Regions from separate parts of the Homo sapiens genome. Here regions 1 and 3 are each linked to region 2. The links are contacts of gene promoters, found by promoter capture Hi-C in human tissues and cell types (Jung and others, 2019). All regions are on one chromosome and are shown on one strand. The core of a region is centred on a gene start or on the middle of the fragment in contact, and the rest is flanking DNA. Distances in the headings are between cores, read along the strand shown.

What was found. Contacts are between HindIII fragments. The study calls those that stand out against the background at their distance.
Region 1: a fragment that was not itself captured here is called in contact with the fragment with the promoter of PIF1 in region 2 in 2 of the 25 tissues and cell types used here (aorta and dorsolateral prefrontal cortex).
Region 3: a fragment that was not itself captured here is called in contact with the fragment with the promoter of PIF1 in region 2 in 1 of the 25 tissues and cell types used here (spleen).

Annotation. Positions count from the first base shown.
Region 1 is chr15:64,431,454-64,434,613 of GRCh38, forward strand. The region is part of intron 11 of TRIP4 (thyroid hormone receptor interactor 4); the gene reads left to right. Among named protein-coding and RNA genes, the nearest start is that of ZNF609, 28 kb to the right of the region's middle. The HindIII fragment of the contact is 3,066 bases long and covers 295-3,160 here.
Region 2 is chr15:64,824,397-64,827,479 of GRCh38, forward strand. PIF1 (PIF1 5'-to-3' DNA helicase) reads right to left here and starts at 1,251. Exons shown (of 13, transcript NM_001286496.2): 1 at 1,173-1,251. RefSeq lists enhancers at 1-194, 1,384-1,513. The HindIII fragment of the contact is 20,575 bases long and covers 1-3,083 here.
Region 3 is chr15:64,415,484-64,418,739 of GRCh38, forward strand. TRIP4 (thyroid hormone receptor interactor 4) reads left to right here. Exons shown (of 13, transcript NM_016213.5): 9 at 3,058-3,245. Among named protein-coding and RNA genes, the nearest start is that of TRIP4, 29 kb to the left of the region's middle. The HindIII fragment of the contact is 9,009 bases long and covers 1-3,256 here.

The DNA.
Region 1 (3,160 bases), core at 578-3,077, 390 kb before region 2:
AGCACTTTGGGAGGCGGAGGCTGGTGGATCATGAGGTCAGGAGTTCAAGACCAGCCTGGCCAACATGGTGAAACCCTGTCTCTACTAAAAATACAAAAAAAAATTAGCTGGGTGTGGTAGTGGGTGCCCGTAATCCCAGCTACTTGGGAGGCTGAGGCAGGAGAATCACTTGAACCCGGGAGGCAGAGGTTGCAGTGAGCAGAGATTGCACCACTGCACTCCAGCCTGGGCAACAGCGTGAGACTCCATCTCAAATTAAAAAAAAAAACAAAACTGGAACATTGACTAGAGTTTCTAGATCAAAACAGACTGTCTTTAGGGTTATTTGCAGTCTGGGTATTAAGTACCCACTTAAATGGTTTCAGAAACCATTTATATTATATATATATATATATTTTTTTTATCCAAAGAGCATTGTGTTTTCTTTTTTTTTTTTTTTTTTTTTTTTGAGACGGAGTCGTACTCTGTCGTCCAGGGTGGTGGAGTGCAGTGGAGTGATCTTGGCTCACTGCAACCTCTGCCTCCTAGGTTCGAGCAATTCTCCTGCCTCAGCCTCCTGAGTAGCTGGGATTGCAGGTACGCACCACCACGCCCGGCTAATTTTTGTATTTTTAGTAGAGACAGGGTTTCACCATGTTGGCCAGGCTAGTCTTGAACTCTTGACCTCGTGATCCGCCTGCCTCGGCCTCCCAAAGTGCTGGGATTACAGGCATGAGCCACCATGCCTGGCTGAGCATTATGTTTTCTGTTGTACTTATCCTGAAGAGAGATGGGAAATATTACCACTTTTCCATGTATTTAGTGTTTTGGTTTTCATCTGAAAATAAACATGAAATTCTTAAGATTTTCATATATATTTATTCATTAATAAATACTTGAGCCAGGCGCAGTGGTTTACGCCTGTAATCCCACCGCTTTGGGAGACCGATGCAGGCGGATCACTCAAGGTCAGGCTCTTGAGACCAGCTTGACCAGCTTGGTGACCATCTCTACTAAAAATACAAAAATTAGCTGGGCATGGTGGCGCACCCCTGTAATCCCAGCTACTTGGGTCACTGAGGCAGGAGAATCACTTGATCCTGGGAGGCAGAGGTTACGGTGAGCCGAGATTGCGCCACTGCACTCCAGCCTGGGTGACAGAGCAAGACTCTGTCTGAAAAATAAATAAATAAATACAGCCGGGCGTGGTGACTCACACCTTTAATCCCAGCAGCTTGGGAGGCCAAGATGGGCGGATCACAAGGTCAGGAGATCAAGACTATCCTGGCTAACATGGTGAAACCCCTTCTCTACTAAAAATACAAAAAATTAGCTGGGCGTCGTGGCATGCGCCTGTAATCCCAGCTACTCGGGAGGCTGAGGCAGGAGAATCTCTTGAACCCGGGAGGTGGAGGTTGTAGTGAGCCAAGATTGCGCCACTGTACTCCAGCCTGGGCAACAGAGCAAGACTCCATCTCAAAAATAAATAAAAATAAATAAATAAATAAATAAATAAACACTTGAGAGCCTATTATAAATCAGGCACTGTTCTAAACACTAAGAGAAACAAAAGGATGAATCAACTGTAGATTCTGTCCTCAGATGTTTGAAAGACTTCTAGGTAGATATGTATATAAACCAAATATAAAATAAAAAGTGAACCTAACTGTCTTAAAAGAAGTAAAGACTGTCTCTGAGAAAAATAAAGGAGGGAAAGCTTGCTTCTAGCTGGGAAGGATCCCAAAAGACTTTATTTAAAAAGATGGTTTTGAATTAGCTTTGAAGGATAGTAATGAAATCTATCACTTTTTGATCAGTTATTATGTGCCACATTCATCATGCTATTTTCTAATCCTTATAATAATTCCAAGCAGGGTGTCATTTCCCCTCCTTTAGGGATGAAATATCATCCCTAAAGTGTCAAGAGAGTTCAAATAACTTGTGTAATGTCCAGGGTGAGGAGTTCGAGACCAGCCTGGTCAACATAATGAAACCTCATCTCTACTAAAAATACAAAAAAAATTAGCCAGGCGTGGTGATGTGCACCTGTAATCCCAGCCACTTGGGAGGCTGAGGCAGGAGAATCACATGAACCCAGGAGGCAGAGGCTGCAGTCAGCTGAGATCGCACCATTGCACTCCAGCCCAGGCAACAGTGCGAGACTCCATCTCAAAAAATAAATAAAAAATAACTTATGTAATGTCAGTTAATGGTAGAGTTATGATTTTGCTGTTCAAGTGTTTCTACTGAGATGGTAGAAAAGCATATTACAAGGATGAGGAGTAATGGGAGCAAAGGCACAGAGGTGAAGTTATCGGCCTCTATGGAGAATAATGGCAAACCAGTTCATTGAAAGAAGAGTGTGAGTATAGAGCAAGCTTGTCCAAGCTGTGGCCCGTGGGATGCATGTGGTCCAGGACGGCTTTGAATGAGACCAAACACAAATTTGTAAACTTTCTTAAAACATGAGATTTTTTGTGTGTGATTTTTTTTTTTAAAGCTCATCAGTTATCGTTAGTGTATTTTATGTGTGGCCCAGGACAATTCTTCCAGCGTGGCCCAGAGAAGCCAAAAGATTGAATACCCCTGGTATAGAGGAATAAGCAGCAAACAAAAAATGAAATGGGGAGTCTCTCTGAAACTAATCTGCTTCTGGGACTGCCCAATTAAAAAAAAATTAAAAAGGGCTGGGCACAGTGGCTCACACCTGTAATCCCAGCACTTTGGAAGGCCGAGGCAGGTGGATCACCTGAGGTTAGGAGTTCGAGACCAGCCAGACCAACATGGAAAAACCCCGTCTCTACTAGAAATATAAAATTAGCTGGGCGTGGTGGCGCATGCCTGTAATCCCAGCTACTCAGGAGGCTGAGGCAGGAGAATCACTTCAACCCAGGAGGCAGAGGCTGCAGTGAGTCGAGATTGTGCCATTGCACTCCAGCCTGGGCAACAAGAGTGAAACTCCGTCTCAAGAAAAAAAAAAAAAAAATGAAAAGGTAGGTTTGTTCAGATGATAGATAGTTTTGAATGATAGGCATTCAAATCTATCAAATGATAGACATATCAGTTGTGGGATGGGAAAGAGTGTTTTGAAGTTTTTTTGAGGCATTAACATGATCTGAGGCTTGCTTGAGGGAAAACTAATTTGGCAGAAATGTGGAAGATGGAGTGGAGATATTCTGAA
Region 2 (3,083 bases), core at 1-2,500:
ACGTAATGGGTGCTATAGGGGACGTAATGGGTGCTATAAAGGACGTGACAGGGAGCAGGGTCAAGGCTACACAAGATCACGAGGACTGTCACTGGTAACACAAAGAGGTCACAAAGACGGAGAAAGGGCTTTGGGCTAACCGAAAATCCACCCTTAGAATATGCCCTGGGCCGGGCGCAGTGGCTCGCGCTTTAATCCCAGCACTTTGGGAGGCTAAAGTGGGCGGATCACCTGAAGTTAGGAGTTCTGAGACCAGCCTGGCCAACATGGTGAAACCTCGTCTCTACTAAAAATACAAAAATTAGCCGGGCGTGGTGGCGGGCGCTTGTAATTCCAGCACTTTGGGAGGCTGAAGAAGGAAGATCGCTTGAGCCCAGGAACTCGAGACCATCCTGGGCAACATAGCGACACCCTCTAATTAAAAAAAAAATACATACATATAAATACATACATATGCATACATTATATATATGTGTGTGTGTGTGTGTATATATATGTATATATATATATACACACACGCACCCTGCTACACAATTTCCATTTCTATATATCCAATTTCTATATATATATACACACAATATATATACAATTTCTATATATATACACACACACACACACACACATATACACACACACCGTGCTACACAACAATTTCCAGAGCGGCGGATGGGCACCGAGGATTAGGGAGCCTCAGGTGTCCTGCAAGGACCTCACTAGAACAGGGGTCCCTGCGCAGAAAGAATCCTCCTTCCCCGAGACCCAGGGCGAGCACATGAATCCTCAGAGTACTCTCCCCAGGAAGCAGGAGAATCGCCCGTGGGGAGATGCAAAGAGGGCTGCCGTGTAATAAGCGACTTCTGCCTTGTAGGTACATTCACTGGCTTATATGCAGCGGGCAGGTCTCACTCTTCCCCGTGTACAGACGTGGAAACAGGCTAAGAGAGGGAAACTCACTTGCCCTTCATAAGCCACAGCGGCTAGTAGTCAAAGTCAGTGTGATTCCCATGCCCTCGCGCTTCCCACCACCAAGGTGGGGACGAGGTGGAAAATATTCGGCTAGGGAAATCGCGGGGGACCCTGGGACCCTAGAAGCCGTGCTCCCTCAGGCTGACCCATTTGTTTGCACCCTCCCGCCGGAAACCCCTAGATAAATCAGGCTCTTTGCTCCCCACCTCTGGGTTCGGGCAGACACTCACTTGTGCCGACACTCAGATGAACAAGCAGATCGTAGCCGGCCTGTGGCTAAGCTCCGAAACTAGAAATTTTTCAAATGCTAGAGGCAGAAAATCACCCAATCACCGACTGGATCTTTAAATTCTCCAGCCACTCAGAGGTAGGGGCGTAACAATGGGCGTGTCTTTCTTTGCGTCTCTACTCCAGGAGCTTGGGCTGTACCAATTGCCTGCTAGAGGAAGGAGGTTTATGGTGGTGGCTGAGCATACCAAATCCAGTGGACGGCTGGGCGTGGTGGGAGGAGGCCGCCGCTGCGGCAGCCACCCGGCGGCGCGTGGTGTCGGGTCTGAAAACCCTACGCGACTCCGAAGATTTATTTTCAGAACCATCCTTCCAGCACACTCCCTCTCCCCTCTAGCCCGCACACAGAGGCTGGGCTTAGCCTTGGGGAAGATCTGCCTTTGGACTCTCACACCCCTGTTTACACTCACAGTACCATTGTCCAGTTCTGGGCAGACCACCCCAAGGCCTGCCCAATCCCTCCCCCGCCCCCAACTCTACATCCTTCTCTGCCTTTGTAAGGGACTTTACGCTTTGGCTCTCTCACCCACCTGAGGCCCATGAGTGAGAAACTCTGAGACCTGTGCCACGTGCCAGAGGGTACAGCGGAAGCGAGTAGAGTCTCTGTCTTCAGGGAAATTGTATCCCTCTTCTTGCACAGGATGCTGAAAGAATTTACTTTTAATCATCTTTATTATCTCATTGAAGCTTGGAATTACATAGCTGGAAAGGATCTTACAGGTGAGTCTGGCTACCTCATTTTACAGATAATGATAACTACCATGGATTAAATTGCCCTTTCCTTTCCTTTTTCCTTCTTAGGGCTCACTCTGTCGCCCAGGCTGTAGTGGAGTGCAGTGGCACAATCTCTGCTCACTGCAACCTCTGCCGTGGCGCGATCGTGGCTCACTGCAACCTCCGCCTCCTGGGCTCTGGTGATCCTCCCGCCTCAGCCCCCCAGGTAGCTGGAACTACAGATGCACACCCAGCTAATTTATATATATATATATATATATATATATATATATATATATATACACACACACACACATATATACACACACATATATATACACACACATATATATATACACACACATATATATATATACACACACATATATATATATAATTTTTTTTTCGTATAGACGGGATGTCACCATGTTTCCCAGGCTTGTCTCGAACTCCGGAGGTCAAACGATCCACCCACCGTGGCCTCCCGAAGTCCTAGGATTACAGGCATGAGCCCGGACCTTATTTTTCAAATGAGAAAAAAGCAAGGCTTCCAGAGATTTTACTGAAGGTCACATAGCTGATATGGAGAGCAAAACCAAACATTGAACCCAGATTACCTGCTCGCTTAATCACTCCATGGGGCTTAGCTACTACACCACACTGCTCCCAGTCTGTTAGCGGTAGAGGGTGATGACTGAAAGTTGTCCAGGTTCTTGGCGTTTTGAACAAAGAATTGGACAAAATGCCCATCAAAGCAAAGAAAGAATGAAGCAACAAAAGAACAAAAGCAGGAATTTTTTGAAAACGAAAGTACGGCTAGGCGCGGTGGCTCACGCCTGTAATCCCAGCACTTTGGGAGGCCGAGGTGGGGGGATCACTTGAGGTCAGCAGTTCCAGACCACCCTGACCAACATGGTGAAACCCTGTCTCTACTAAAAATACAAAAATTGCCGGGTGTCGTCGTGGACATCTGTAATCCCAGCTGCTTGGGAGGCTGAGGCATGAGAATCACTTGAATCCAGGAGGCAGAAGATACAGTGAGCCTGGATCGTGCCGCTGCACTCCAGCCTGAGCGACAGAACGAGAACTTGTCTCAAAACAAACAACAACAACAA
Region 3 (3,256 bases), core at 283-2,782, 410 kb before region 2:
AGGCTTTACAGGAGAATGCTTACTTACCTCTTTAAGATTCTGGTGGCTCTAGGTGTCTTTTGCCTTGTAGCTCATTACTCTAATCTCTGCCTCTGTCTTCACATGGACTTCTTCCCCATGTGTGTCTCTGTCACTGTGTGCTCTCTCCTCTTACAAGGATACAAGTCATTGGATTTAGGGCCTACTATAATCTAATATAACCTCATCTTAAACTGATTACACCTGTAAAGATTATTTCCAAATAAGGTTGTATTCACAGATTCCATGAACGTGGACATTGATTTTGGGGGGATACTACTCAACCCAGTACAGTAAGCAACACCTGATCATGAAAGATTTTTTGTCTTATGCTAATGAGTTTAGGTTTTGCCCTAAAGTAGGCAAAGAAGGGTTCTGGAAGAATTTTAACAGAAGATTGGCATGGCTTCCATGCCTACGTAGAGAATGGATTGGAGGGAAGAGTAAGTAAGATTAGAAGCTGAGAAATTGCCAAGGTAGTCATTGCAATAGCACCATGGAAAGATGATGCCAGCCCAAATTAGTATTAAAGCACTAGTGGAGCAGTAGAGAGTTATTTAAAGACCAAAAGTGGGAGCCGGGCCTGAGATGTAGTGATACACATCTATAGTCCCAGATACTTGGGAAGCTGAGGTGGGAGGATCACTTGAGACCAGGAGTTGGAGGCTGCAGTGAGCTATGATTAAGCCACCACACTCCAGCCTGGATGACACAGTGAGACCCCATCTCTAAAAAAAAATAATTATCATCATAAAGACTAAAAATGTAGATGAAGAGACCTGCTGGCAGATTCTTTAATAGTATTATCAAAAGATAATGAGGAATTAATTTAGGAAAGTGGCTGTGTAATTAGAGGGAACAGCTGTAGTAGAAATAGAAAAAATAATTTGGGCCTCAAGATTGTTCACATACCAACATTTTATGAAATTATTTATTTCCAGCCAGGTGTGGTGGCTCACGTCTGTAATCCTAGCATTTTGGGAGGCTGAGGAAGGAGGATCACTTGAAGCCAGGAGGTCAAGACCAGCCTGGGCAACAGAGCAAGACAGTGTCTCAAAAAAAATTTTTTTTAAAGAAATTATTTATTTACCCTATAATGGATCAATTCTTTTTCCTCTTTGGTCCTCTGTAAAAACTTCTATCTCCTATTTAGTATGTAGTCAATTCTGCCTTATGTTTTGAATAGTTATTTATGTGTCTGTCTTCCACTAGGCTTTAAGTTCCTTGCAAGCAAGAACCGTATCTTTTTCATATTTTATGTCTCCCTAGTTAATGTGCTTTTCACAGTTAAGTACTCAATAAATGTGTATTTAATTTGTAAAAATGTGTATTTTTAAGATATGCCACAATTGACAAGAATCATAAAATTGTATGGCAGAAAGATCCTTAGAAATTTATTTAGTCCAACTTCATCCTTTTCCAGTTTGAAAAACTGAAATCTTTAGGGGTTAAATGCCTAGGGTTTCGACTACCACTAGAAGTTTTTTCCTATAAGTTATTTTATGTTCATTTTTATTTATTTTTGAGACAGGATATTGTTCTGTCATCCAGGCTAGAGTGCAGTGGTATGATCATAGCTCACTGCAGCCTCCACCTCCCAGGCTCGAGAGATCCTCCCATCTCAGCTTCTCAAGTGGCTCAGACTACAGTAGCCACGTGCCATCATACCTTACTAATTTGTATATTTTTTTGTAGAGAAGGAGTTTCGCCTTGTTGCCCAGGTTGGTCTTAAACTTCTGGGCTCAAGCGATCCTCCTGCCTTGGCCTCCTTAAGTGCTGGGATTACAGACATCGGCCATCATGCCTGGCCCTTATTATTATTTTTAAAGACACAGGACCTCACCATGTTGCCCAGGCTGGCCTTGAACTTATGGGCTCAAGTGATCCTCCTGCCTCACCTCCTGAGTAACTAGTGAAGCTACAGGCATGCTTCACTGTGTTCAGCTTTATAAATTATTAATTTTTTAAAAAAGATAACCCCAAATATCATCATGCTAATTGCCTTTATTTTTAAATTTTAATTTTGGAGGACATGGTATCGTTGCTCTGGAAGAAACATTAACCTTTGCCATTCTCTGTCTGAACTGTTGCCAAGACTCTTCACTCTCCTGTAATTACCTGTACCTTATAATTCTCTATTCTTTTTATATGATGGGAGCCCTGTTTTAGTAGTCCTCCACCCTCTCTTTCAGGAGACAAGTTCTTCATTTCAGGGTAAGAGAATATTTCATGCATCCAGTAGTCAGAACTGCTGCCTCTGACCTGACAACATCTGTTTGGCTTTGTCATGGTGCCAGCATGTGACACTGCCCCTAAGCACATGCAGAATTGTGGACCAAAATGTTGAACTTTCATTTAGCTCACAGAATTCTATTGAAAAATTATCCAGAACCAAGTATGGATCATTAAGTATAAATTGGAAATAATTATAGCTCTTTTGGTGTGATATTTGTGCTGTTGCTGGAATTAGTAAGCATTGTATGGAGATTTCAACATTCTAATTATTCTTTAAGATGGGCCTTGTTATCATACCTGAGACTTCTACTGAATGTATACTATCTCTACCCTTTTGGCCTTATTGCAGACAAAGATGGGATTATTTTTCATTTGTTGTTGTTGTTGTTGTTGTTCTGAGACAGAGTCTCTCTTGCCCAGGCTGGAGTGCAGTGGCACAATCTTGGCTCATTGCAACCTCCACCTCCTGGGTTCAAATGATTCTCCTGCCTCTGCCTCATGAGTAGCTGGGATTATAGGCACCTGCCACCACGCCCAGCTAATTTTTGTAGTTTTAGTAGAGATGGGGTTTCACCATGTTAGCCAGACTGGCCTAGAACTCCTGACCTCAAGTGATCCACCCGCCTTGGCCTCTCAAAGTGCTGGGATTACAGGCGTGAGCCACGATGCCCGGCCTGGGATATATTTTTCTAAGAAAAATGTTCCCAATATGATTTCCTCATTATTAGCATTCGCATCATTTTGTCTACCTACCCCAGATTCTTGCCTTATAAGATAGAACTGTATGTTTGTTTTTCTGTGTAGTGGGTTGACCACACAGGTGCAGCCTCACAGAAGAAGGCTTTCCGTTCTTCAGGATTTGGACTAGAGTTCAACTCATTTCAGCACCAGTTGCGAATCCAGGATCAAGAATTTCAGGAAGGCTTTGATGGTGGCTGGTGCCTCTCTGTACATCAGCCCTGGGCTTCTCTGCTTGTCAGAGGGATTAAAAGGTAAGAATAAA